4 separate regions of the Homo sapiens genome follow, and regions 1, 3 and 4 are each linked to region 2. The links are contacts of gene promoters, found by promoter capture Hi-C in blood cells and fetal thymus (Javierre and others, 2016). All regions are on one chromosome and are shown on one strand. Each heading gives the region's core, a stretch centred on a gene start or on the middle of the fragment in contact. The rest is flanking DNA. Distances are from core to core; before and after follow the strand shown.

Evidence for each region. Contacts are between HindIII fragments. The CHiCAGO score rates a contact against its expected background, and 5 or more counts as called.
Region 1: a contact is called between a fragment that was not itself captured here and the fragment with the promoter of DYNC2H1 in region 2, in 2 of 17 cell types (total CD4 T cells and naive CD8 T cells). The highest score is 5.4, in total CD4 T cells.
Region 3: a contact is called between a fragment that was not itself captured here and the fragment with the promoter of DYNC2H1 in region 2, in 4 of 17 cell types (non-activated CD4 T cells, total CD4 T cells, total CD8 T cells and 1 more). The highest score is 11.5, in non-activated CD4 T cells.
Region 4: a fragment that was not itself captured here is called in contact with the fragment with the promoter of DYNC2H1 in region 2 in 1 of 17 cell types (total CD8 T cells); the score reaches 5.1 in total CD8 T cells.

Annotation. Positions count from the first base shown.
Region 1 is chr11:105,036,469-105,043,770 of GRCh38, forward strand. CARD16 (caspase recruitment domain family member 16) reads right to left here. Exons shown (of 4, transcript NM_052889.4): 3 at 7,015-7,077; 4 at 5,095-5,251. The coding sequence ends at 7,058. It also overlaps a transcript of CASP1 not described here. Among named protein-coding and RNA genes, the nearest start is that of CASP1, 5.0 kb to the left of the region's middle. The HindIII fragment of the contact is 323 bases long and covers 5,185-5,507 here.
Region 2 is chr11:103,103,723-103,110,999 of GRCh38, forward strand. DYNC2H1 (dynein cytoplasmic 2 heavy chain 1) reads left to right here and starts at 5,704. Exons shown (of 89, transcript NM_001377.3): 1 at 5,704-6,047. The coding sequence starts at 5,853. RefSeq lists enhancers at 5,297-5,416, 5,487-5,536. The HindIII fragment of the contact is 957 bases long and covers 5,279-6,235 here.
Region 3 is chr11:101,902,602-101,909,741 of GRCh38, forward strand. ANGPTL5 (angiopoietin like 5) reads right to left here. Exons shown (of 9, transcript NM_178127.5): 2 at 5,213-5,400; 3 at 4,502-4,646; 4 at 3,143-3,246; 5 at 2,213-2,306; 6 at 20-120. The coding sequence starts at 5,308. Among named protein-coding and RNA genes, the nearest start is that of CEP126, 8.8 kb to the right of the region's middle. The HindIII fragment of the contact is 831 bases long and covers 4,732-5,562 here.
Region 4 is chr11:104,699,298-104,706,668 of GRCh38, forward strand. No RefSeq gene overlaps it. Among named protein-coding and RNA genes, the nearest start is that of LINC02552, 94 kb to the left of the region's middle. RefSeq lists enhancers at 6,384-6,513, 6,524-6,643. The HindIII fragment of the contact is 471 bases long and covers 5,525-5,995 here.

The DNA of each region.
Region 1 (7,302 bases), core at 4,096-6,595, 1.9 Mb after region 2:
ATGGGAGGTATCTGGTGGGATGTAATTGAATCATGGGTGCTGTTTTTTTTCCATGCTGTTCTCTTGATAATGAATGTCTCATGAGATCCGATGGTTTTATAAAAGGGAATTCCTCTGCTCATACCCTCTTGCCTGCACCCATGTAAGACGTGTCCTTGCTCCTCTTTTGCCTTTTGCTATGATTCTGAGGCCTCCCCAGCCATGTGGAACTGTGAGTCTATTAAATATCTTTTTTGTTCTATATAATTACCCAGCCTTGAGTATGTCTTTATTAGCAGTGTGAGAAATGACTAATGCAGTAAATTTATACTGAGTAATGGAGTGCTGCTGTAAAGATCTCCAAAAATGTGGAAGCGATGTTGGAACTGGGTAAAATGCAGAGGTTGGAACAGTTCTTAGGGCTTAGAGAAAGATAGGAAAATAGAATCTGGAACTTTCTAGAGACTTGTTGAATGGCTTTGACTAAATGCTGCTCATCTCGAATGAAGATAGGAACTTGTTGGGAAGTGGAATAAAAGTGACTGTTGCTGCGTTTTAGTGAAGAGAGTGGTGGCATCTTGCCCCTGCCCTAGAGATCTGTGGAACTTTGAACTTGAGAGAGATGATTTAGGGCATCTGGCAGAAGAAATTTCTAAGCAGCAAAGCATTCCAGAAGTGATTTGGGTGCTGTTAAAAGCATTCATTTTTATGTATTTGCAAAGATATGGTTTGGAATTGGAACTTATGTTTAAAAGGGAAGCAGAGCATAAAAGTTTGAAACATTCGCAGCCAGATGATGTGCTGGGAAAGCAAAACCCACTTTCTAAGGAGAAATTCAAGCCAACTGTAGAAATTTGCAGAAGTAACGAGGAGCCAAATGTTAATCTCTAAGACATTAATCTCCAAGACAATGGGGAATATGTCTCCAGAGTATGTCAGAGACCTTCCAGGCAGCCCCTCCTATCACAGGACTGGAGACCTAAGAGGGAAAAAAATGTTTTCATGAGGTAAGCCGAGGGCCCTTCTGCTGTATGCAGCCTAAAGGCTTAGTGCCCTTCTTCCCGGGCCACTGAAGCCATGGCTAAAAGGGGCCAAGAAATAGCTTGGGCTGTGACTTCAAAGGGTGCAAGCCCCAAGCCTTGGCAGCTTCCATGTGGTGTGGAGCCTGTAGGGGCACAGAAGTCAAGAATTGAGGTTTGGGAACCTCTGTCTAGATTTCAGAGGATGTATGGAAATGCTTGTATGTCCAGGCAGAAGTTTGCTGCAGGGGTGGGACCCTCATGAAGAACTTCTACTAGGGCAATGCAGAAGGGAAATGTGGGGTGTGAGCTCCCACACAGAGTCCTCACTGGGGCACTGCCTAGTGGAGCCATGAGAAAAGGGCCACCATCCTCCAGATCCTAAAATGGTAGATCCACAAACGGCTTGCACCATGCACCTGGAATACTCAGGCACTCAATGCCAACCCATGAAAGCAGCTAGGAGGGATGCTGTACACTGCAAAGCCACGAGGGTGGAGCTGCCCAAGGCCATGGGACCCCGACTCTTGCATCAGCATGACCGAGATATGAGACATGGAGTCAAAGATCATTTTGAAGCTTTAAGATTTGGCTGCCCTACTGGATATTGGACTCGCATGGGGAATGTAGCCCCTTCCTTTGGCCAATTTCTCCCATTTGGAATGGGTGTATTTACCCAATGCCTGTATCCCCGTTGTATCTAGGAAGTAACTAACTTGCTTTTGATTTTACAGGCTCATAGGTGGAAGGGACTTGCCTTGTCTTAGAGAAGACTTTGGACTTGGACTTTTGGGTTAATGCTGGAATGAGTGAAGACTTTGAGGAACAGTTGGAAGGCAGGATTGGTTTTGAAATGTGAGCACATGACATTTAGGAGAGGCCAGGGGCAGAATGACAGAGTTTGGCTCTGTGTCCCCACCAAAACCTCACCTTAAATTGTAATAATCCCCTGGTGTCATGGGAGGCACCTGGTGGGAGGTAATTGAATCATGGAGGTGGGTTTTTCCCATGTTGTTCTCATGATAGTGAAAAAGTCTCATGAGATCTGATGGCTTCATAAAGGGGAGTTCCCCTGCACATGCCTTTTTGTCTGCTTCCATGGAAGATGTGTCCTTGCTCCTCTTTTGCCTTCCACCATGATTGTGAGGCTTCCCCAGCCATGTGGAACTATGAGCCCATTAAACCTCTTTTTTTCTTTATAAATACCCAGTCTTGGGTATGTCTTTATTAGCAGCATGAGAACAGACTAATACACCTGGTATGTAATATGTAACTGGAATATTCAGACTGTTCAAATGTAGCAAGTGATGAGAATGATAAAAAAAAAATTGGCAAAGTAGGAGACAAAATATTGCAGGACTCATGAACTTTAGACAGAGGAGCCAGGGAAGGCCAGAAAAGGTCTCTGCCTTTGCAATCACATGTTCAATTGCTTATCCCAGAAACAAACTCAATGTGGCTAATTTATTTTATAAATCTATTTGATGAAAGGTGGGCTAATTGCAAAATGCACACGGTATGTTACGTTTATCAAATTCTTTACCAAAAATTCTCCTGATTTGTTACCTTAATATTTTTGGAGATTAAAGACCCAGAGTTAGAAAAACATCCACCTTTTGACATGTGGGCTACCAGTTTTATTTTCTGTGCTCTAGGTGAAGGGTTAAATGTGTTTGGGTTTGACTAGAACTCACTGTGTAGGAGGACATCGTTTTTTTTTTTTATTTTTTATTTTTTGACAGAGTCTCGCACTGTCACCCCACTGGAGTGCAATGGTGCCATCTCCGCCTCCCGGGTTCATGTGATTCTCCTGCCTCAGCCTCCCAAGTAGCTGGAATTACAGGCACCACCACACCTGGCTAATTTTTTGTATTTTTACTAGAGATGGGGTTTCACTATGTTCACCAGACTGGTCTCAAACTCCTGACCTCGTAATCTGGCCACCTTGGCCTCCCAAAGTGCTGGGATTATAGATGTGAGCCACCATGCCCAACCTCTCATGGTGTTTTATCTTTACTTTGCCAATGACTTAATCCGATGGCAGCACAAACTTGTGCTCCTTGCCACTGGGAGGATTTGTAGCATGGAAGAAAGCAGAAATTGCCTGTGTATTACTTATCTTCCCATCATGTACTTTTAAATGATTCAATTTTTTTTCTATTAACTAAAGTATTTCACATGAGGGTTTCGCCCACAGCCAGAGCCATGAACCACTGAGTTGAAGCATGTCAGAGTGACATCCCAGAAACAGAAGCCATGACTAGACCATATATCTGGGAATGTAGAACCATAAGCCTTGAGTCTCATGTCATGGAAAGCTAAACACTGAGCCACTAGATTGCAAGGGCCCACTGTTTCCTCAAAAATGAAGATGTCAAAAACTGGAAACAAATAAATATCCAATTCCAGAGCATAAAATAACAATTTGTGCTATACATGTACACTGAAATGCTATTCAGTCATGAAAGGGAAAAATTACTAATATATGCAATAACATGGATGAAAAAAATATGTTTCAATTATGAGTGAAAGAAGCCATATAGGAAGGAACACATACCCTGTGATTCCAATTATATAAAGTTCTAGATTAGGAAAAACTAACGTACAGTGATAGAAATTCGATGACTACTTATCTGAGGAGGAAGTGGAAGGAGATTGATAACAATGGGCGTGACAAAACTTTCTGGGGTGACAAAATCGGTTTGCCTATTCACTAGGATGTTATTATACTAGAATAGCCATGTATCATTAGTTATCAACTTGTATTCTTAAAAGGAGTACATTTTCTTTGACGTAAATTATACAAAAATAACATTAAAATTTTGAAGCGAAAATGGTCAGTGGTTGTAATAATATATATTTTTTTGTTGATTTCTGGCTGGACACACTCCACAAATTTGTAAAAATTTTGGTAAGAGGAAGTTGTTCTTATAGTGACTGAGTTGTAATTACCAACCACCCAAGTTGGATGGGGAATTGTAGACAGAGTGGATATAATTTATAGGAACCAAATTGTTGACTTAAATGTGTACTTGGAAAATAGAATTACAAAGGTAAAATCATCTCAAAATAAATGAATGTAACAATTCTATTATAAGTAATATTTTAAATGTGCATAATGTTATAAAATCCTGTCAGTGTGAAGTCTGGGAAACAATATAATTTTAAATGACAGAGTAGGTACTGTAAAAATCTCTGACATAGAAGGCAGACAATTCTGTGCTTGGGTTTTGGCCATCCCATTTCCAAGCCTTAGAAGTTCATGGACACTTTCAGTTTATCCAACTCTTCTTAGTTATATTTTTGGACTATCAGCACATTTTGTGTAATACAACTTAGAGCACTAATCAACTATTACATGTTATTTTATTTTTTCTTTGTCTAAAAGCCTCTTTCTTTCTGCCCGGTTTATCAGTGTGGACTTTGGCATCTAATAGCCCTAGGGTCAACTTCTATTTATGAGCTGTAGATCTTAACCAAGTTATTTAACATCTCCCATCCTCCGTGTTCTCATGTATAGGAGGGGCCTCATTATCATTCTTACCTTCTAAGATGCAATGCCTGGTGTAGAGAGCATGCCACTATACCTCTCATTTATAGTAGTCATAAGCTATAGCCCAGAAGCAAGGTAATGTTAAAATGTACTTTTTGGTAAAGTGCTTCTAAATTATTCATATGCTTCATTTCAATATGTTAAATAAACATTAATTTCATTTTATGAATAGGAACAACAGGTAAAAAACTGACTCCAATTCTTGGTAAACACAAGTTGGAGAATTGGGTGAGAAGCAAGAGTCCACTTCAATACTTGCTCAATGGGATGTGCTTTTTTCCAACTGGGCACTACACTGGAAAATCTGGGTTATACAAGCAGACAAAATGGCTTGTTTGTGTCAGTGGGAAATAAATTCTAAGAGACAGACTGGGTGAAGACTATGATAATTTATGAGTTCCAGTTTGCAACTCTTTACCTAAACCTGGGATTCTAGGATATAGAGATCCTTTATGCAAGGGGAGCAGAAGTATGTTCCTCCAGAACCGCTCAATAAAATTGGTTCTAAGAAAAAGCCACTGCATTTCAAAACTGCCTGAAGTATATCTTTCACTCCACTTTATTATTGTATTCTGAACATGGCACCTCTGCAACTTTTGTTTCCATATCCTTTGAGCGTCTTCTAGAAAGCAAAGCTTGATTCTGCCTTCTGGGCTTGAGCATGTGGGCATAGCTGGGTTGTCCTGCACTGCCTGAAGAGCTGCAAGAGACAAGGAATATCATGAACAGTGGTATCCCTCTTTGTTCTTATAGCCTCACCTATGGAGGAAGCTACAAAAGAGGAAATACATTCCTAGAGGACAATCCTAATCTAGTCATTAACATAGTTGAGTGCGTTTGCTGCTAATGGAGCACATTTCAAGCCAGAGATTTCTAGGTATGCATTACAGGGAGGATCTACTTTCATATTTGAGCATAAGTATTTCTACAAGCATCTTAGATAAAAACAGAGAGGAAGCTTTTCAAGGCCATGCATGATAAAACACTCAGGAAACAGTCAATGAGTGATATAAAATAGTTAAAATATGATTTGTTTTCAAAGGATTCAAACCCTAGGATAAAATTTAATGGGAGCAGGTCTTAATTAACACTAATTAATTTTTAAAATATGTGTTTATCCTTTTATTTATTTACCTAATAGACATGGTAGTAAACACTGGGAATATTTTTTTAATGATCCCTTTTCCTGTCCTTCAGCATCTCCTCCTACAATGTATACATATGGGAGGACAAGAATATTGAATACGTAAACTAGAATAAATATAAAATAGAACGATGAATGCTAAAATCATGGTGTGCTCTAGATGGATTCATAGCACTAAACATTGCTTTCACGAACATATGAGGAAATGTTTTCACAGAGTTTATGTGAGAAAATCTTTGAGGCTTTTATTTCATCACAAGATCAACACAATCTGACAATGTGATGCACTTGTTAAAAAATTAATGTGATGTTTGTTTCAAGATAGAACTGAGGTTTCTAGATATCCAGAGGATCTTTTAGAAACTATTAAGGCAAAATAATAATATTTAATTTTGCAAACAAATTTGAAAAACTGCTATACAATCAGATAAACAAAGGCAGCATGAAGTGTGTTGACATGGAGAAGAACTAATTAGAATGATTATATTGGAGAAAACTATAAAATAATAATTTAGTAGAAGAAATGTTTGGTTTCTTTGTAAGGATTTGTGAAAGCAATAGAGAAAAACTAAAGAAAAGCATTTGAGTTATTTTTGAGAATACAGTATTTGGTTATATAGTGAGTATCCCATGCTGTGAAACATTTAAGAAAACATTCATGAGGTAATCATCCTTAATAAATTCAGTAGAGTAATATCTGAACTTGATAAAAACATGCATTTCTAGCCTCTAAATTGCTTTCAAATATAAGTTTCTTTTATTTTAAGGGGGGCACTTAAGGAATAAGAGTTCTTTAATAAAATAATAGAAGTAAGAATGAAGAGACATTTCCAAATTTGAGAGAAGAATGCATAAAACTTGGCCATGGCTTGAATATTGGAGGTGCATGAGAGGAAGGGGGCCAAGATGAGTTTCAAGTTCCTGGATTGAACAACTGGTGATGGTGGCATCAAAAACCAAGTTACACAAAACTGTAAGAGAAGCAGGGTGGGGAAGAATGGCATGTTCAGCTCTGAAATTGTTTACATAAATGTGTCTCTGGAAGATGTGAGGGAATATTTCAGTAGTCTTAAATGATGAAGTTTGGTACTTATTTGGGTAATCAGAATTTGAGATACAAATTCAGATTTTGTTAGTATAAATAAGAGTAGTAAAGCTTTGGGAACAGTTTCTGCAAAAACAGAATAGATTAAAAAAGAAAATTATATGATCAGTCTATGGGAATTCTCCATAGCCCCTTCAAGCAGAGCTCATTCCACTAAATTAATGTTAAAGAAGATGGGGTTCAAAGAATGCTCTTCATTGAAAAACAACATTACCTGGGAAGGAAGAAAATAGTAATTGGGAGTCTTGTGTACTAAGCTAATTTCCAGGTATCGGACCTATAAAAAGATGAAGAACATTGAAATAGCCACTTATCATCTCTGGAAAACTTTACAGCAATGCATAAGCCACTCCTCACTGCAAATTCCTCCCACAACCCTGACTAAATGACAATAAATAATGTTCAAGTGCACCAAAACTCCCATCCTCACCATGCTGTAGGTTCAAGGGATTATAAGAATGGGCAAGCTCATTTCCTGAGCACTGTATCAGGCCCTAGGAGG
Region 2 (7,277 bases), core at 4,454-6,953:
AGGGCTCCATCCTCAAGACCTAATCACCTTCCAAAGCCCTACCTTTTAATAATATCACGATAGGGATTAAGTTTCAACATATAAATTTGAAGGAATATTAAATGATCTGTATTACTCAGGGCTCTCCAGAGAAACAGAATCAACAGGGTATAAATAAATATTTAAGAGGATATTTGTTATGGGAATTTCCTCACCCAATTATGGAGGCCAAGAAGTCCCAAGTTATGCTGTCTGCAAGTTGGAAAACCAGGAAAGCTGGTGGTGTAATTCAGCCTGAGTCTCAAGACCTTGGAACATGGTGTGCTGCTGGTATAAATTCTGAAGTCAAAAGGTCCCAAAGCTAGGAGTTCTGATTTTCCAGAGCAGAAGATGGATGGCCCACCACCAGAAGATAGCAAGTTCACCCTTCCTTGCCTTTTTGTTCTATTTGAGTCCTCAAGGGATTGGATGATGCCTGCCCACATTGATGAGGGCTATCTTCTTACCCAGTCTATTGATTCAAATACTAATCTTTTCCTGAAACACCCTCACAAATACACCCAGAAATAATGTTTTACCAGCTATCTGGGTATCATTTTATCTAACAACTTGACTAGTATTTTTTCCTTTAAATTTACTAAATTACAAAGCATCTATTTAACAAGTAGGGCAATATTGTATAACCAACACTATATATTTAACATATTTGCCAATATTTATCAAACATAATGGGTAAAATGGAAAAAAATCTTTATCCTATATTCACCTTCATGGAATAGATGCAGATACCTTAGAAATCATCTAGAAGGCTAGATTTCTGGAGGAACTTGAAATATTTTCAGAGGAACTACAAGGTCAGAACTGTTTTCACAATAATAGTGAAACATTATGTATCTCCGCTGCTATGCTTGACATTTTCATCGATGGTGCAGTAGCAATGGCAGCTACGGTAGGCAGAATTCTAGGAAGGCCCCAAGGCCACTGCTCCCTGGCACGCACACTTTGAAGAGCCCCCTAACCTTGAGTGTGGAGGAAATCTGTGAATATGACGGTATATCACTCCCGTGCCTAGTTTACTCATCAGTTGACTTTGAGTTAATGAAAAAGGAGATTATTCGTTGGGCCTGATCTAATCAGGTGAATCCTTAAAAGGAACTGGCTTCTTGCTGTTATAAAAGAGATTTGAGGCACAAGGGAGCTTAGATGTGTTAGGAAGTTCTCTACTGTTGGCTTAAAAGACGGAGGATAAGAATGTGGGCAATATCTAATTGCTGAGTGGCCCCAGCTGACATCCAGCAAAGAAATGAGGACCTCAGTCTTACAACTGCAAGAAAATGCATTCTGCATCAACTATAAGAGGACTCTAAGCTCCAAATGAGAATGCAGCCTGGCTGACATCTTGATTTATGCCTGTGAGACCCTTAGCATGCAGCACCCAGCCTCCTGACTTATCAGACTTTTAGCTAATAAATGGGTGTTATTTTAAGCCACTAAATTTGTAGTAGTTTGTTACACAACAATGTAAAACAATGCAGTGGCTAAAACAGCTGGCAAATTGACACAAATCAAGGGTGGGGCACCAAACTGCTTTACTAATCATCTATTCTTCACATGCATGCATTCACTGGAAAAGATTCCAGTTTCATTTAAGAATCTCCTGGATGAAGGAGTAAAATTTATTCTTTTCATTAAATCTTAAACCTTCAGTACTAGTCATTTCAATATTTTGAACAATGAAATAATATACCGTAAAACACTGCTGCATTGAAGTATTAATAATGGCCTGTTTCAAGGAAAATAATTTTGTGATTGTCTGAGTTATGGTCAAAACTAGCTGTTTTTTTTTCATGGAAGACCATTTTTACTTGAAAGAATAACAAAATAATGTTATTCAGACTTTGATATTTGGCAGAAATTTTTCTTAAAAATGAATGAAATGAGCTTATCACTTCCAGGGAAACAATTGACCTTATTTGTGGCCAATGATAAAATTCAAGTGTTCCTGCAAAAATTAGAATCTTGGATAACTTAAATTCTCTACTGTAAGTTTGACAACCTCTCCATACATAAAGACTTTTTCTTGGCCAGGCGAGGTGGCTCATTCCTGTAATCTCAGCACTTTAGGAGGCTGAGGTGGGAGGATCACTTGAGCACAGGAGTTTGAGACTACAGCAAGGTATGATCAAGCCACTGCACTCCAGCTTGGGTGACAGAGAAAGACCCTGTCTCTAAAAAGACTTTTTCTTATAAGATCAGTGGTGTATTAATAAATGTGATTTTAAAAATATTATATAAGCAAATGTATCAATATTTGGAAGATCTTCATAGCTTAGGAACCAATACTTTCTAAATGACCAATGTATGATGTTATGAAATTATGTGCGAGCAAAAGATACATTCAAAGTGCTAGAAAACCAATGGATTTTAATGTAACTGAGTATGAAATATTCATTGATCTGGTTCCAAATTCCAAATTTTAACTATCCTTTAAGAAACTACTACTTGTGGAATGTTAGTTTAGTATAAAAGAATATTCACAAGCATCTATTAAAATCTTCATTTTTTAGCTTCTCAATTTTTAAACTACATATCTGTGTGAGGCTGGATATTCTCTATATACTTCAATCCAAACAACGTATTGCAAGAGATGGAATGCAGAAGAACATAGAGGATCCAGTTGTCTTCTGTTAAGGCAGACAGGAAAGGGACTTAACAAAAATGTAAAAACAATGCCATTCTTCTCATCATTTTTTTTTGCCTTTTAGAAATATAATTATTTTCATAAAAATGTTATTTATTTTACCAAGAATGGTCTTATTATGCTTATTTTAAGATAGATAGATATTTCAAAAATTTCTCAGTTTTAATTTTGATTACAATAAATGTTGATAGAAATAAACTACAGAAACAAAATCCTTTTGAAGTCTTCAGTAATTTTTTTTATTTTATTTTTTTTGAGACAGAGTCTTGCTCTGTTACTCAGGTTGGAGTGCAGTGGCACGATCTTGGCTCACTGCAACCTCTGCCTCCCAGGTTCAAGCTATTCTTCTGCCTCAGACTCCCGAGTAGCTGGAATTACAGGTGTGCGCCACTGTGCCCGGCTAATTTTTGAATTTTTAGTAGAGACGGGGTTTCACCATATTGGCCAGGCTGGTCTCAAACTCCTGACCTCATGATCTGCCCGCCTCAGCCTCCCAAAGTGCTGGGATTACAGGCGAGAGCCACTGTGCCTGGCAGTAATTTTTTAAAGTATAAAAATAATTGTTTAAAGTATAAAGTATAAAAAGGTCACCAAAAAGTTTGGGAAATGGCATATAGGACAAAATTAGGAAACCCTGTCTCAGAAAGTTTTGGGCCTTCCCCTTCAGCTCACGTTACCTGTTTTTATGCCACCTGCCAGACAACTGCTAAGACAATGCTCCACATTAAAAAAAAAAATCATTACTACACTATGGATATCAATTACTCTTTTGGTTAGAGTAGCCTAAATTGCCATAAAAATAGCCCACACAGTTTAATGTACAATGCCTCAAACACAACAAAGCTTATTTCTTGCTTATTTAACAACTGCAGACATTATTCCACTCTGTGATTCAGGATCCTAGGGTCCTACTCTTGGAAAGTTTTGCCATCCCTGTTGCTTTATTGTTATCTGCAACCAGCTGGCAAAAGTTAAGGTATTCTCACTTCTTTAAAACTTTGCCTTGAAGACGCACACATTACTTCTTCTCACATTTTATTGGTGAGAATTAGTCACATGACCACACCTGGATGGTAGCCACTTCTTAGCTATGGAAGGGAAAAATAGATTTTGGTGGATATCTGGCTAACACTGTGATATGGTATATAGAGATTGGCTCAGAATTGGATTTTGGTAGGAATCTTGGTTCTACCACTTACCATCTCTGTGTTTTTGTGTAAGTTATTTAATCTGTGAGGTTCTTTCTTCTTTATTGTATGCTTGATACAATACATAAAGTCCGTATCTGTCTTTTCTTCCCACTCTGTGCCTCATTTTTCGTATATAGTAGTGAAAAGGAAACACAAAACTTCTATTTCATGGGGTTTACATGTCAACGGGAGCTTCCATGTTTGAGATCGGTGTTAAACTTGATTCAAACACAATTTCATAGTTTGTGGAAGCCCTAAGTTTCCTGAAGAGTTCTAAAAATTCTTGGGAGGATCACATACTCATGATCTCATCTGCTTTCTAGACTCATCTTCCTACATGTGTTGCCTTTTTATTTACCATATTGTTATGGAAGCTCAATTCAGCCATTTCATACATTTCCACCAAAACAACTCACCAAACCGAGCACTTGTGGGTAATGGAGACTTTCCTGAAGACCTTGGTAAGAGTGATAATGCTCATTGCAGAGCAGGAAACTCTGTAACCATAGTGGTCACTTTGGCTTTCAAAATCTTTTTATTAGCTACACAGTCATCTTGGGTTCCTGTTAGGATTTTTTCCCTCACCCAGTGGTCAGCATCCCACCTCACTGTTTGGATGTTTTCCCATCCAGTGGCCAGACTCCCATCTCTCACTGTTTGGATATTTCATGAGAATTTACATTCATTTCCTTTTATAATTTAGAGCAGTTCAGCTTTTTTAAGTTCCCACTCCAAAATCTTAAGTTGCTCAGCAAATAAAAGGACTCTCTCCTTCCAATTCTCAAATAGTATAGTTTTAAGGGGAGGTTATGATTATTAAGTGCAAACAAAAAAAATCTGCATATGTTTGTGTACCCTAGGATCTTGGGTCAAACCAGTGCTGAGGTGATGAATGACTACAGCAAAAACTTCCTGAGGGCAGGAACTGTGTCCCCAGGGCCTAGTTCGGTACTTGGCAAATTGTGTTAGATTGGTGCAAAAGTAATTACAGTTCTTGCCAAAAAACCGCAATTACGTTTGCACCAACCTAATAGCATGTAGTAAATATTTTTAGAAGAGAATTACTGAATTGAGAAAGTGTTTGACGAATGTTCGGATGAATGACCAGCAATTTAGTAGTTTATAGTAATGCCATGAAGTAGAAAATGACAAAGACCGTTTTCATATCTGTATTTTCACAGAATTTGGTTGCGGTTGTTATAAAATAAACTAAAAAGTATCATTTTACATTTTAGCTATTTTACAAATATGGTTGTGCTCGGGTAATGATTGCAATAAAAAATTGCTGGTTAAATTATTCTAAAATTAATAATAGAAAAAACGATGTTGGGAAATGCAGCAGCACAGAAAGGAGCAGAGGGCGACTGAGAAAGTAAATTAACATTGTATTGAATTCCTAGTCTTTATAAGCTTCTCTAAAAAGCGATTTTTAAATAGTAATCTTTTACAATCCGCACTACACCCCTGGTTGTGAGATAGTATTTCCCCTTCTTAACAGATGTGTACCTTGACGCTGACAGACTGGTTTGCTACCAGGTGCACGTGGAGAGCGAGCACTGGAACCCAGCTCTCCTAAATCTAGATCACGCTGCTGTACTTGAAGGCTAGATGTCTCTCTTCTGATTATGCGTGATAAGAAATCAGTAAGAAGAATAAAAGACATGTTTGAGAGCCAACATAAACTTGTCCGAACCCCTTACAATCGATGACCGCAGGGAGCCGCTGAAGAGCTCCGAGGCGGTCGATAGCCTCCGCGAGCTTTGCGTGCGCGTGCCCCGAGAGGGCAACGCCCACCGCGCGCCGCCAGCGACGCCGCCGTAGTGCTCCGTCGCCATAGCGACTACCCCTGGCAACCGCGAAGCTCTGCGGTCCCGCGGTCGGGCTACGGGTTTGAGCAAAGCTCCTCTCTTCCCTTCACTTCCCTCCGGACTGGTTTCTTCTTCCTTCCCCCTTCCCCCAACTTCCCTCCACCCCTTCCAATCATGGCGAACGGGACTGCGGACGTTCGGAAGCTCTTCATCTTCACTACTACCCAGAATTACTTCGGGTTGATGTCTGAACTCTGGGATCAGCCACTGTTGTGCAACTGTCTTGAAATCAACAACTTCTTGGATGACGGCAACCAGATGCTCCTCAGGGTGCAGCGATCCGACGCAGGAATCTCCTTTTCCAACACGGTACGGTTCCTTGCACTCCTGCCTGACCCCTGACCACTCTTCAAGTCCCCAGGCCCAGCCAGAGGGACGTCGGGTCACACTCTTTAGCTTTACCAACCAGATCCTTTTCAGGAACCCAAGGCTGTCTCCACTTCTCCTGCATTATTGGCTTAGATGCGTTGGCCTCGTGCTTAAGCAGGTAGTTTCCAAGCTTTGCATCCTACCTGACCGAAGCATGTTTCCCTTCCATACATCTGAATAGAAGCAATTAGATTGTGTTTTATTTTAAATTTTTATACGGAGTTTCGTTCTGTCGCTTAGGCTGGATGGAGTGTAGTGGCGCGATCTCTGCTCACTGCGTCCTCCACCTCCTGAGTTCAAGCGATTCTCGTGCCTCAGCCTCCCGAGTAGCAGGCGCGCGCCGCCACGCCTGGCTAATTTTTGTATTTTCAGTAGAGACGGGGGTTTCACCACGTTGGCCATGTGGGTCTCCATCTCCTGACCTCAAGTGATCCGGCCTCCCAAAGTGCTGGGATTGCAAGCATGAGCCACCGCGCCCGGCCTATATTCTACTTTTTAAGAAAGACTGCAGATACGTTATAACTAAAAAGAAAACATTTACTTAGTTATTTTTATTTTTTTCTCTCCCCTTTTTGAGTTTTTTTTTTGGGGGGAAGGCAAATTCTAGTCTATCTTTTTTGGATCAGGCTCTGATTTTAACATTGCCCAAGGGAAAGATTAGTTAGGAATTTAAATTTTTGTGAAATGATATATTTCAAAATAAAGTTTGAATTCTTTTTTGGTGTACATCATGTGATATACTGATTTATTAATTGCACTGCTCCCTCCACTGGCAGGATTGCTTAAAAAATGGGTTGCATTTGCAATCAGGGCTTATATATATAAGCCTAAAAGAAAAACACAGAAGAAAATTGCCTGACACATTAAAGGGGACTCAGTAAATAGATTTAAGTTAATAAAACAAAGACATATTTTAAACCTCTTCCTTTGGTGTTCACCCTTATCCCTAGGTCTAGCAGAGTTTTTGACACTCAGCAAAAACATTCAGTGCCTTTTTTTTTTTTTTTAGACGCAGTTCGCAGTTTCGCTCGTATTACCCAGGCTGGAGTGCAATGGCACAATCTTGGCTCACTGCAACCTCTGCCTCCCGGGTTCAAGCGATTCTCCTGCCACAGCCTCCCAAGTAGCTGGGATTACAGGGCATGTGCCACCACACCCAGCTAATTTTTT
Region 3 (7,140 bases), core at 3,897-6,396, 1.2 Mb before region 2:
CTTCAAATACGGGAAATACCTCAAATGGGTAGCTAGATCCTTCTGGGTGAATTATGTATAAACCACTCGGTGTTTTGGTGACAGAGCCAATGGTATCCTTAATATCAGTGCAATCTAAACCTAGAAAAGCAAAATTATTTAATTGGGATATTTTCAAATGTACATTTAAGGCAATCATTTTACTATAGAGAATTGATAGTGCTATTATCATAATTTTCATTATTATATTATTTTAACTTCTTCAAAATGAAAAATGGTCACAATTTTAGAAATAAAAAGAAAATATAAGGGATTAAAGAATTTATGCTGCAATAAGCCTTCACTTATAATGTCACTGTTAGTGATTAGTTTCCTATACTATTTAAAAGTTTCATTTGGGATCAACACTTATTAAACATATTTTATAATTACACATTCTCTTTACCAATAAATAATGCCATTTCAGAAATTTAGGTTTATCTTAGAGAATGTAATGTGTAAAGGAAATCTACATGAATAGGGAGGAGAAAACCAAAAGGAATAAGTAGATTAACCACTACAGACACATATTTCACTATTCTATTCCCAACTTCAGAGACTGATGTGTTTGGGACCACTAATACAAGTAGCCAAAGGAAGAAAGGGGAAAATCACTTTCTTCCCCAAGAAATTATGCCTGATGTTAGAGCCTACTCTGTTAACAACAGTTAGAATTATAGCACCCCATAATCACCTTCTCCAAAGCACTCATCTCCCCAGGATTGTAAACACGTGTATGTGGATATGGATATTACATTTTCTGGAAGATACTCTACTCTGTAGCATCTTTTATAAGTGAAATAAATTCAACCCTTAGAGCGTCCATTATCCAAATGCCCATCTTAACATCCTAGTTCTACTCCTAACACTTTACTTCATAGTGTTATCCTAACTATTTACGTAGTAAGGTATTACATAAAGCCTTTACCATAGTGCCCAGCACACCCAAATAATGAAGAAAATGCCATCTACAAAAAGTTAGCTATAAAAAGTCACTTGTTTTCCCCTTCGTCTCTGGGAGACATAGATTTGTTGTTGCCTGTATCCTTAATTGTTAAGAGATATTCTTATAATGACTTTATGCTCAGAGACATGAAAGAAGTTCACGCTGAAGGACCGATCTGGGTTGGAGTGTCTGCTATGTCATTACCTTTCAAATTAATGTGAACAGATTATTTCGATTTTTCTGGGCTGGATATTTCTTATCTGATGATGATGATCATAGCAAGCAAGCCCTTATATTGTTCTGCCTGTGATTCGGGCATTTTTTTTATTTCCTTGTGATAAACATTTGATTCGGGCAATATTTTAAGAGACTTTCCTGTATTTATTCACTTAATCCTCACATCAACTGTAAGAGGTAGGTACTATCAGTTTACTGATGAGAAAACATATCAAGAGAGCAGCAAGCAAGAAATTTGAAACCAAGGAGTCTGACATCAGAGTCCATGCTCCTGACTACCACATTATGCCTGCTTTGGGGCAGTTATGAGATATAATAAAATAATTTTAATAACAAAATAATGTGAGAAAGTGCCTGTCTTCCTACCTATCACATAGAAGATTTTTAGGCACTGTTTATTGTCTTCTTTTTCGAAGAAGGACATAAAGATCATGTTCTAGGCCCTCAATAATATTTATTTGCTTTAAACATTTGGGGATAAATTCATATTTATAAGATTTATAGGGTATTTTTCTTAGAAGTCCAAACCTCTAGGAATTAATATGCTGTATTTTAGTATAAAAAGTGCTAACTTTCAGTTTATTCTTGTCTTACATTTCTTTTTCTTTTCAAATTTTATGCCCCAATTTGAAACATTTCAAACATGTCAAAAACATTTTTTACAGGTGGGAGGAACTTTGAAACTTTCTTTTCTTCTATCTGAAGATGAATTATTAATAAGATATAAACTGGGAGTCCAGAACAAAGCTATAGAAAGCTATGTTATTTTCAACAGCTTCAGGATATCTTTATACAGCCATGGCTTTCACATGGTTGAAAAAGTTTCCCATTTTAAGAAAGTACACGTTGTCTATGGTGAAATTTGCTTAATAGCAGGTATTAGCCCTCCAGTCTGTTAGAGAACGGTGAGCTGTAGTTTTTAAATAAAACTTTTAAATGGATCGACCTGTCCAGGAAAATTTTAAGCAATAAAAGACAAACATGAAAAGGCTGAAATACCAAAGTTCTCACCATGTGACTGAACAGGTCTGTGAGGAAAAGGATCCAGCTGTTTTCTAAAAACTTCTGTAGTCAAAAGGAGAACTCTATTCATGAGCTCGTTAACCTAAACACATGCATACACATTTAAGTAAATTTATATTTGAAGAAATTGCCATCTCTAAGCCTCTCATAAACCCAGCTCTGAAATACGTAATGGTGCCCATTTTTCTAGATTGATTTCTTACTGCTTTAACAAAGAATAAAGGCAAAGCTAAATAGCAATCATTAAATTTCGTAGTATCTACCTCCTTAACGTTGATTTTATCTGCCCCGATTTCTGCATTTGGCTGCTCTTGCACATCTGCCCTTCATACCTTGTCCAAACCATTGCTGTAGTTTCTTACCTCCTCCTTTGGCTCTTCCTCAAGTCATTGGCCACACAAGTTAATCAGATTGTGGCATTTCCTTGCTTAAACACTACAGTGGCTCCTTGGTGTGGTATGACTTCGTTCTTGCCTATTCCTATAGTCAGTTTTCCTTAAATACTCAACCTCACCAGCCACTCCACCCTGTACCAACACCAAGAAGTTTCCCCAGAATGGAATGTCCTCTTCGCCTTACCCAACCTTTATGATTTTTAAAACATTTATTCATCCTTCATGACTGTTAACAGACTTTCTCCTCTGGGAAGCTTTTTGTATCTGAGAGTTCTCTTTTGTGCCATTCTAGCAACCACATTTTTGTCAACACATTTTAATGCTCCACTAGACCATACCCCTTGAATTAAGTTCGATTTTTTTACTGCTTTTTGTTTGCCTAAAGTTTACTATGGTGCCTCTAACATGGTAGGCGCTAAATAGATGTCTGAACATGAATGCATTTTAAAAAAAGATTATACCTCCAGCTAACTATACATCAACGTGTACATGCAATAACAACACAATACTAAAACATCTATACCTGATTAGATAAATAATCCAAGGAAGCTTGTTGCTCATCCATCATATTCCTTAGTAGTTTTTTGGTACTTCTTGTGTAGGAAACAATAGAATTTTGCAAATTTCCTTAACCATAATAAAAAGTGGCTGTTAAATATTATATTGTTACAGAAAACAATTACAGTGAAAAATAGTGAATTTTACCTGATTTTGGATATGTATGTTAACTCAATACTATCTCAATTTATCTTAATACTCAGAATTACATATTTTAGTTAGTATATCTTTTGTTTAACTCAGGATTAACCCCAGAAATGATTGTCTCAATACTTCTTAATGAAACTATGCTTCCTACTAATATAGATTACCCAGAATAATTAATCTGTTATCATTAAGAGACAGTGTTCTGATTATAAATTCTCACTTTATAAGATGAGATATATAGAGGCAGGAGTTATAGGATTCATCAATTCTTACTGTAAAAGAAAGTTAGTGGTGACAGTTTTATACCAGGCAAGTTAATTTTAAAAAGTACATCTTTGTTTTAATTTTTCTATTAATACTATATTTACACAATTAAATTGCTAGCACATACATATACATACACATAATAAATGTTAGTCAAAGGTTTTGGTTATTTGGTTTCTGACTAAACATTTACTATACATTTTCCTTTTAAAAATGTTTTTATCTTAAGAGAAAATTTCTTATAGCGAAGTTGCGATAACAGTACAAATAACTTTTTCCTAATGCCTTTGAGACCATGTTGCCATGATGTACCGTCATGCTATTTCAGTGTATATTTCTTACACCAAAGACATTTCTAATAACATACCACCAAAATTAGGAAATAAACATTCACTACCTATATTTCTCAGACCCTATGTGAGTTTTACCCAAGATAGTAATAATGTTGCCCCCTATAACAAAAGGGCCCACACACTATTACGTATGTTATTCTTTAAAATTTTATTTTCTAACTTTCTTTCCACCAGCAGTAGAATCACATTAAAAAATCTTGATATTTTTAATTCTACCTCACTCTGCTTCCTCTCTCTTTCTTATTTTCAGTCTGTCACTTTCTATTAGCTTTTTCCTGAATTTAGCCATCTGTCTTAATAGGTCTAAAGCTGCACTCATTGGTTTGAGAAGCCTGAGACCCTTTTGTTGCACACAGAATTAGCTACATAGAGAAAGGATCCATTCATTTACCAAATATTTATTAAGCACCTATTATGGGCCAAACAATAAAGCTTCTGGCCTAGGATGATCAGGATGTATAGAAAATGACCCAGACAAAAGCTAAAGTATACTTTTCAGTGTCTACCCTAAAAATAATGAATCATATACTCTTATTATTTTGTTTATTTTTAATACTTACTACACATGAAATGTTTTTCTTCTCGTGTAATTTTAGTTTTAACATCACATGATTCCTCACAGTCTTCCTTACAAACAGTATCATTACTTTTACTTTCATCTTTTGCATTAGATCCATCTTCTACAATGTTAACTACTGAAGAGTCCTTTATATTAAAAAATAGAAATAAGAAAAAAATACATTAAACATGTTATATGACCTAATACATAATAAAAAAGACTATAGAGAAAAGCTTAGATTTCAGGAAAGACAAGGCTGATCATTAGAGAGAAATATAAGCTATTTAATTCAAACTTCCACAAATAAACCTGATGAGTAAATAAAATCAAACGGACCAATTTCTTAATTTCCTGGGTAGCCACTCACAGGACAATATTTGAAATATGAAAGTTTGTGGAACAGCTTTTTTTTTAAGCAAAGTGATTTTTTACTACCTATCAGATATTTCATTGAAAAGTTGTGGGCTAGTTTTTAATCTAGGCCTGAAATGTCTTCAAAATATTTTCATATCTGTTGAATCAATCCTCAGTTTATAGTTTCCTCAGTTTAAATACAGTAATATTAAAGCAATTTTCAACATTTCTAAATACATGTTTTAATTGTTCCATAAATTATATTTGGTAGTTATGATTAATCTTTTCAAAATTCTAATATATATCTTGAAAGCTAATCATGCTTTCCTAGCTAATATAATATTGCTAAAATTCTTACCGTAGAATGATGTACACAGTTACCTTGTACAGCTTCTCCACAAATAAAAATACATACATTTAAGAATAAGAGTGAGGCTTGGGATGGAGACATCATATTTTTCTTGGATAGATGAAAACACTTCTTCAAATATCAGTCAGCTCTTTGTGGAAAGAACTACAGAGCATAGAGTCTTCAGTTAAAAACCTCTGGAAAGCGTACAACAAAAACATAAGCCAAAACTTACTAGTTTCCATGCCCTGGTTTGAAACAACACCCTTCATATGAAAAACAAAGTAGCCTCTGGAGATCCTGACATTTTAAATTGTACAATTCCTTTTTTATCACTTCATGTCTGTATTATAAATCCAAGCTTTTGCAATATAGGCAACAAATAGATAAATAAGTAAATAAATAAATAAATGACAGATGTAGACAGATAAATAAAGCATGAATTTATAAATTCATCTAATTTTTGTGAGTCAGCCTTTTCTTGCCTTGGGAAAAAAAATGGCTTTGATAAGCTATACATCAATAATTGCAAACTGCTTGCAAAAAAATAGGAAGTAGAAATGACTGATGGAGTGGGAAAAATATTACCTTGGAACTATTTCTATAAAATGCTAAGTAGAAATTTGATCGAGGTGGACATCCAGAGCAGATAATTCAGACTTAAAATATACTTTTAAAATGCCAAATCTCAACGCTGGGCGCAGTGGCTCACGCCTGTAATCCCAACACTTTGGGAGGCTGAGGTAGGTGGATCACCTGAGGTCAGGAGTTCAAGACCAGCCTGGTCAACATGGCGAAACCTCGTCTCTACTAAAAAATACAAAAATTAGCCGGGCGTTGTAGCAGGTGCCTGTAATCCCAGCTGCTAGGGAGGCTGAGGCAGGGAGAATCGCTTGAACCTGGGAGGCAGAGGTTGCAGTGAGCCGAGATCACGCCACTGCACTCCAGCCTGGGCGAAAGAGTGAGACTCCATCTCAAAAAAAAAAAAAAAAAAAATTGCAAATTTCTAAGACTGTAATTAATCTGTAATTAGTTGTAATCTAATTACAACTATTTTGTTAAAACTGTAAAAATTCTGAACATCAGAGAAATAATATTATTGAAAATGACCACTCTTTGAAGGTTGATAGATGAATGTCTTCAAATTTTCCCTTTCAATGTCTCCTTCCCTTCATTCTACACACATGCCTAAGTCTTCATTATTCTAAAATTAAGAGGCAAAGCAAAACTTTCCTGCATCTTCCTTCTGGTTCGAGACATTATTTTCTCCATCTCCTTTCCTAACCTGAGAACTGCCATAGTTTTTATGGTACTAGTACAATGACTGATACACAAGAGGCACTCAAATATTTTCTTAATGAAGAAACAGCTTAAAATAATTATCTGTTCTCTGACTTTCCTTCCTCACCACCTACTATTTAAACCCAAACAATCATATCTCTTATTTGTGGCAATCACTTTCTCAGAGTTTCTCCAGTGAGACAGTATGAGATGGTTGGGAGTGCCGGCTCCAAGACCAGATTGCCTGATTTAAAGATTAGTTTCAACACTCCCTTACCCTGGAATCTTGGACAAAGTTACTAATATTGCTATAGCTTGATTACCTCCTTTGTATTATGGAAATTGTTGTATGGATTAAAAGATATGTAACATTGCGGACAATATTGATGACTTTTATAATTTATATTAATAGGCAAATACACATATTGTAATCTTAAATTTCTAGTTGAAGTCTTACAAAATTCAAGTGAAAATGGCAGAACTTCAGCAGAAGTTGGCAGAACTTTAAATCAGCCAGATGTTAAAATTCTTTGTTCTTTCACATCTTGCCCAGAGACCAATTCAGGAAATTCTTATTTGAGCAAGAAAATACTTCAGTGGAAGATGGAAAAAAAAAAATAGCCTCAGCCAAGACAAAAGTGAAAGCACAAAAAAAT
Region 4 (7,371 bases), core at 4,510-7,009, 1.6 Mb after region 2:
TTATTTTCAAAAACTCATGGGACTTTGTTAATCTCTCTTGTATAATTATATTGTATCATATATTACAATTACATACATCTCTCTTATTCACATAATATAGTGAAAGCTCTTTGAGAACAGAAACTATGACATCCTTTCATTCTTCACAGAATCTAGCATAGGGCCTTACATTAATTGCTGAGTGAATATTTATCACATAAATTAATGAATTTTTGATTCATGCCTTTTTAAAAATTATTTCTTATTTTTAAAAATAGAGAGGAGGTCTTGTTATGTTGCCCAGGCTTGTTTCAAACTCCTGGACTGAAGCAATCTGCCCACCTCAGCCTCCCAAAGTGTTGGGATTACAAGTGTGAGCCACCACGCCCAGCCCCATTTTCTTTATGTGAAATAATTGGTTCCAATCAACATATTCCAAGTTATTTATAGTTTTTATCTCAATATATTTATATTCTTCATAAAGCACTTTTTAAAAGTTATTTTATTGGTTACTTTTATTTTGTTTCCTTTTTATTTTATATTATCTTTATTCAGTATAGTATATTAACTATTTGAAATAAGAGCTATTTTTCTTACACATGTGCCTGCATTTAATATGAAATAATATCATCTCTCACTAGACCATGACTAATGAATAAAATCAATTTAATTCAAGGAAATAGCATAGATTGATTATACTTCTATAGTGCTAAATTCATATAGACTCCTAAGTAAATACCAAGTGTATACATGCATCCTTTAAGAATTTAATTAATTATATTAAACATAACATTCTATGTTTTTATCTTAGCTTTGTTTTTAGAGGCAAATTTTTCTTCTAGTCAGAGTCCTACTTCTGCTACTTCACTCTTTGCTTGGATGCAGTTGCAGACTGTTGTCTGCAGCTGTTGCTCATTAACTAAAATCTGCAGTAGAACTTTTTCCTTTTTCCCAAGTGGTGGTGTTTTGATCATAGCATTCCCTAGAGCACAAAATGAATGCATATGTATGGACCATATAATGAATGGCCTTCTTGGTAATAAATAAAAAATTTAAGAGCTGTTTACATTTTTATAAATCCAGAAACAAACTAATTTTTGAAAAAAAAATGCACATTAATGTATTCATTTGCTCAGAATGCATCAATTTACCAAGTATATGTTAAGCGTATATTGAACTAGTGTAAGGTATAGAAGAATACATCAAATATAGTGATAAACTATTTTAATTCTTATAAGACACACATTTACTTTCATAAGCTCACAAAGTAACCAACATGGTCCATCTGTTTATTTATCTGTCAATCTATCTGGCTAGCTAGCTGATAACTAGGAATAAAACCAAACCAAACCAGGACTCAGCCTTTTTTTGCTGTACTCTATTCATGACCCAGTCTTTCCTCTCTGTATCTTCATCTCTAGCAGAGACAGGTTTATTTTCCTTAGTAGTCTCATTACTGCTTGTCATGTTGCTGAATCAGTAAAACCACATTAAAAGTTGTTTCATAACCTAAGAATCTTGAACAGGCTGGTCTGTTAGCCTGATCTGTCCTTTGCTGAACTTTCTTCTCTTTCAAGAAAGGCATTTAACAGAATTCCAGGCAAAAGTCCTACCAACATTCTTATCAATGATCTTATGCAATAGCAGGGAAACAATTAATGTAGCAGTCTATTTCATTCAGTTCTTAATTATCACTGCAGCCATGGTGATGATCCTTGGTCAAGTCCTCAAAACAAAACTATTGGAATGTTCACATAGTTACTATGTAGTGATGTTATTCTATATGTGTAGAAACAGTGGGTCAAGATGAAGGAGGTTGTCAGCACATTGAGAACAAACATGAAGATTCATAATACACACCTGTTTTGGGGTCTGCACTATGGCTGGTCATGTGGTAGCTGTGTGACCAGCTACCTTTAAAAGGTTTTACTGGGCAAGGGCATCTCTCACTTCTTCCTGCAATTCAAAGCTGAGGAGAAAGATGTGTCTGTGCAATCCATGCAGAGGAAGGACAAGAAAGCCACTATATGATTTGTCTATGTATAGCTTTTTCCTGCTGTTCTTGCCGTGTACTCTTTGCTGTAATAAATCTTAGCCATGAGTATAATTTTGTGTTGAGTTATATGAGTCCTTTCAGAAATTCACCAAAGTAGTAGGTGAAACTGCCAAGGCAGCAATAGTTGTTTTTTACACATGTATTTTTTTAACGTTCCATTTTAATTCCATGTGACTGGACATTTTTAATATTTTAAGATATTAAAAAACTAAGCATATTGAAGATCTATATCTTTTTACCCCAATAGTTGGATGCAATTTTATAATAATTGCTACCATTTTCATTTAAAAAAAATTTTTACTCTTTTTCTAAATCAGTCTCTCTTAGCCTATAACAACATTTATTTGTAATGAATAAAGGTACTTTGATATAAAGTAACTTTTATCAAAGGTGCTTTAAGCCTACTGATACCTATGGGAAAATGATTCATTAAAATATTAATGGACTAATGTAATACTTTGTAATTTTTCCTGAGGTGTAATAGGAACAGTATGGACTTAGAGTCACTTTCTCAACACAGAGTTAAACCCTATCTCTGTCTCTTTCAAGCCGTGTCGTTTTGACAAGTGCTGTAGGAAAAACATCACCTACCTCATAAAGTTGTTTTGAAGATTAAAGTAGACCATGTATAAAATATACTGCTCAAAGTACACCATACATGTAGATCACTAAGATAAAATTCTCCAAAACATTCATAAATTTAGAAAGTCTAAATAACTTGTTTTCTAATGCTATCGTAGATTTTAAAATTTTAACTTTTTTTCCTGTTTTCTGCTAGTATATAAAAATACAGTTGGTTTTGGCATATTAACCTTATCTGTAGTGACTATGTTTAGTCCATTTATTAGGCCTAGTAGCTGTTTTTAGATAGTTTAAGATTTTTTTACATAAACAGACTTCTAGTATGATGTTGAATAGAAGTGGTGATAATGGTAATCATTGATTTGTTTCTGATCTCATTGGGAAAGAGTTCAATAATTTGCCATTAAGTACACAGTCAACTGCAGGTTTTTCATAGGTTCCCTTTATCAGATTGAAGAAATTCCCCTCCAATCTTACTCTACGCAAAATTCTTCTTAGGTATCAGTATTGAATTTTGTCAATTGCTTTTTATGCATCTATTAGGATAATCATATGGCTTATCTTTTCTATTCTATTAATATGATGAATTATACTGATTGATTTTTGAGAGTTAAAACAGCTTTTTGTTCTTTAGATAAAGCCTCCTGGGAATGATGTATTATCCTTTTCATATATTACTGCTGAAAATTTACACGAGACGGATTTTCTTTTGGATAAAGCTATTTCACAAGTATATGTATTTGCTGCAGATTATATGTTAATTTCAAGCTTGAGATAACTCATTGTCCCTCATGTAACCTCTTTTTTTTTTTTTTTTTCTTCTTAAATCCCACTGACATTTTGTCTACAACATGGATTTGTTTCTGTCAGGTAACTTAAGAACTTCCATATATAACTTTCTACATGCATAGAAAACTTCACTTTGAAATTGTTTGTGTTGACATCAGGGAATTAAATTCATTTCAGGTGCTATTGTAGGCCAAATTACAGGTTTTGAGTTTATAAAGATACCTCTGACTGAGTAATGCCACCTGATAATGTGGAGCTTTAAGAGCGTTGTTTGACTTTTTAATTGAGGTTATGGCTTATTTGTGTGCTTTACATTTTTTATTAATAATACAAATTATTTATTGTCATCTGATGATATAAGTAAACATACATTTCACTTACACATTTTAATCAACTTACATGATGAGCCAAATATCGTTTGGCTAATAAAAAAAAACCTAACCAAAACATAAATTTTCACTAAAGATATAAGATTATATTCTGGTTATTCAAAAAGAAATGTTTCTTTGGATTCATTATTAACCAAAATTGGATAGGCTATTCATCAAGCATGTATTGAACGTATATTATATATAACACAATGGAATGAGACCTCTAAGGAAATAAACAATGGAAAAAAATTAAAGCACACCTTAAGGTGTTACGTTTTGTTTTGCTTTTAATTAATTATTTTTCCAGAGCAGTTTTAGGTTTACAATAAAATCAAGCAGAAGGCACAGGATTTTCCATACAACCTTGGTACCTATGCATGCTTAGCCTTTCCCATTATCAATATCCCCCACCAGAGTGGTCCATTTGTTATAATCCATGAATCAACATTGAAACATTATATCCCCCAGACTCCATAGTTCACATTAGGGTTGACTCTTGATGTTGTGCATTCTGTGAGTTGGGACAAATGGTGGACATGTAGCCACCATTCTAGTTCCATACAGAATAGTTCACTCTCCTAACAGTGTTTTTAACACACCCATCTCAAAGTATAACTTCCAAATGGGTAAAAGCATGACTCATGAATATATAAAATGTACACATGTCAAAAATTGTATTCTAGTTCTTAATTAACAAAGGAACAAGTAAGTTTTTTTTGTTTTTGTTTTGTTTTGTTATGAGACAGTCTCACTCTGTTGCCCAGGCTGGAGTGCAATGGTGTGATCTCCGCTCACTGCAACCTCTGCCTCCTGGCTTCAAGAGATTCTCCTGCCTCAGCCTCTCCAGTAGCTGGGATTACAGGTGCACACCACCATGCCTGGCTAATTTTTGTATTTTTAGTAGAGATGGGGTTTCACCATGTTGGCCAGGCTGGTCTTGAACTCCTGACCTCATGATCCGCCCGTCTCGGCCTCCCAAGGTGCTGGGATTACAGGTGTGAGTCACCGCGCCGGGCCTAATAAGAAGTTTTAATTGATATAAAGAACATTTGAAAAGTAATTATTTGTAAGTAATATTATTTGAGATCACCAGGTTAGAGACAAAACTCATAGAAAGGGATATAAAATTTTGGAATTGTATATCGTACAAGAGAGAAATTAATTTCATCTTTCTAAAAAAGTCTACAAGTTAAAGTCTAATTTTTAAAAAATCAGTTTAAAAGTCTAACTTCCCTTTCTTAAGTCTTAGACCTTGGGTAAATAGTGAGGTAATCATGTACATTCCCATAAATGATGTTTTGCTTTCATGGGACACTGAAAAAATGTGCTATTCACATTTTTTCTTATTTTCAAGGTTTAGATAATTTTTCTAACATAGATAAAAGCAATGTATACATATTATAGTTACATAGTACTTTACTCTGAAAAGCATTTAAAGTGAAGTTTTATGAAATGTTCAGAAAAGGAAAATACATTTCAACTTGGCCTTCAGGGATTCTCAGCTAGGAATTGGCAGAGATGGAAAGTGGATGGAGAAGAGATCAGAAAAAAAGGAGAGAGCTGATTTGAAGGCACAAAAGCCAGAAAGCATAGTTGTATTTTGCAATAGAAAGGACTCCAGTTTGCTTACATTGCTGGATGCATGGAAGAGAACAGCAGGCTATAAAGGCCGAGAAGATGGTTTGAGTCTGGATTGTGCCAGGCTAAAGGATTTTGACTTTTTTTGTTAGGCAATAGGGATCCCTAAAGCTTTTAGAGTCTGGATAAGGAAGATAGATCTGCTCAATAAGAAGGATGAACTAACAATAGAGTCTTTTCTAGGATGCTACTGAAGGAATTGAGAGACAGAATATACAAATGAGTGAAAGCCAGACCATATAGAAAAATAGAACCCTAACCCACAATTTGCAGCTACCAGCACAGGATGCCAGCTTGCTACACATCTGACTTGTAGGAAGTCAGAATGTTATCTCTAATAATAAATCCAGGAAGCCAAACAATAACTCCTATTACAATTGACCCCAAATGACCAGGCCTTGATTAATAACTGACAACTTTAATAATTTTTGTCCCTGCTTCCAACTTAGGACCAACTAGAGAAAGCCAGTTATACACCTCTAACCAATTCCATCGATGCTTCACTTCTAGTTAGCCACCCCACAACAACAGCCTCCAATCAGGGAATAATAGTTGAAGCCTTTCCTCTTCTCAACTATGAAGCTTCCCTACTTTTCTGCTGCACTTTGAGTCTGCCAAAATGCAAGCAATGATGGCTGATTCCTTTGCAATTAAAAACTCTGAATAAATAAACTTTGCTTGTTCTCATTCAGATGGTCTTTGTTTACTTCCATAAAATACACTACCATTAAAACTAAGGATTCTTTTTTAACTAACAGCTTTATCAAGACACATGAATCTGTCCAGTCAATATAAATTGGATCTCCTAGTGTGCCAGGCAGTGTCAGGCAGTAAAAATGTAAGCATATACACTCTTGCCCTCGGAAAGCCTTTACACTGTGTAGGATAGAAACAAGTAAATATACATCATACACTGTCAAATACAAAACTGAACCCAAGTTAAAATTAACACAGGCTGATTATTCATAAATGTGCAGGAAGAGAACCCATCTGTCATCACTTTCATTTCAGCAGAGGTACAAGGATGTTAGAAATGAGAGTAAATTTTACCTGGTAAAAAAGAAAAAAATGCTGAAAGCGTCTCTAATTGGTGAGCATTACATTAAAGTGGGATGTGGAAGCAGAGACTTATTCAGGTATATTTGAGATTAGTTGGTGTGCTGGAACTAGGTGAGCCGGCATTTTCAGAATATTTCAAAACAGGAAGTCTTATTCAATGTTAGAGACTGAAGATTTTCTGTGGCTGGCCATTTCCAGGAACAAGTCTAGCTGACGGGGTGCTTTTGTGTGGTGTGTCTGTCATAATGGTCCTTAATGGAGGCAGAGGAGCTGGTATGGCAGGAAGTTTCTCACCACAGTATACTAAGTAATGAGTTTCTGTTAGTTTTATGTAGAGAGATCTGAATTTACAGATGAGATAATGTTGGTACTGCTGGATTGGCATTACAAAAATATGAAACTGCAAAAGTGGCTGCCCCCAAGATATCTGAAGACCAATTTATTTAAATTAAAAACAATTTATGGGCTTTTATGTGTGTGTGTGTGTATGTGTGTGTGTATATATATATGTGAAATTTTCAAGAACACAGCCTACACATAAAGCAGTACTGCAGACTGTCAGTCTATAAGCTAAAATTTTGTTTATTTATATTGGCTAGTGCTAAAAAATGGAATTTTCATGCTGTTAACAGTGACCTGTTTCCCATAGTCACTACTGTTGACACATCCTTATACCAGTGTATTTCACATATCCACATTAACTAAAAAGGCTTTGGGCTTGCAAGTGTTGAAGAAATATAATTAAAAACAAAATATTCTCTCAACCCAGAAATTATCCACAAAGACAGTAGAGAAAGAGAACACTTTTATTATTGAAAAAGCATTACACCATAATATGATGCACATCACAGGAAATCCATTAAGAGATTGCAAAGACAGAAAGGAATCTCTACCCCT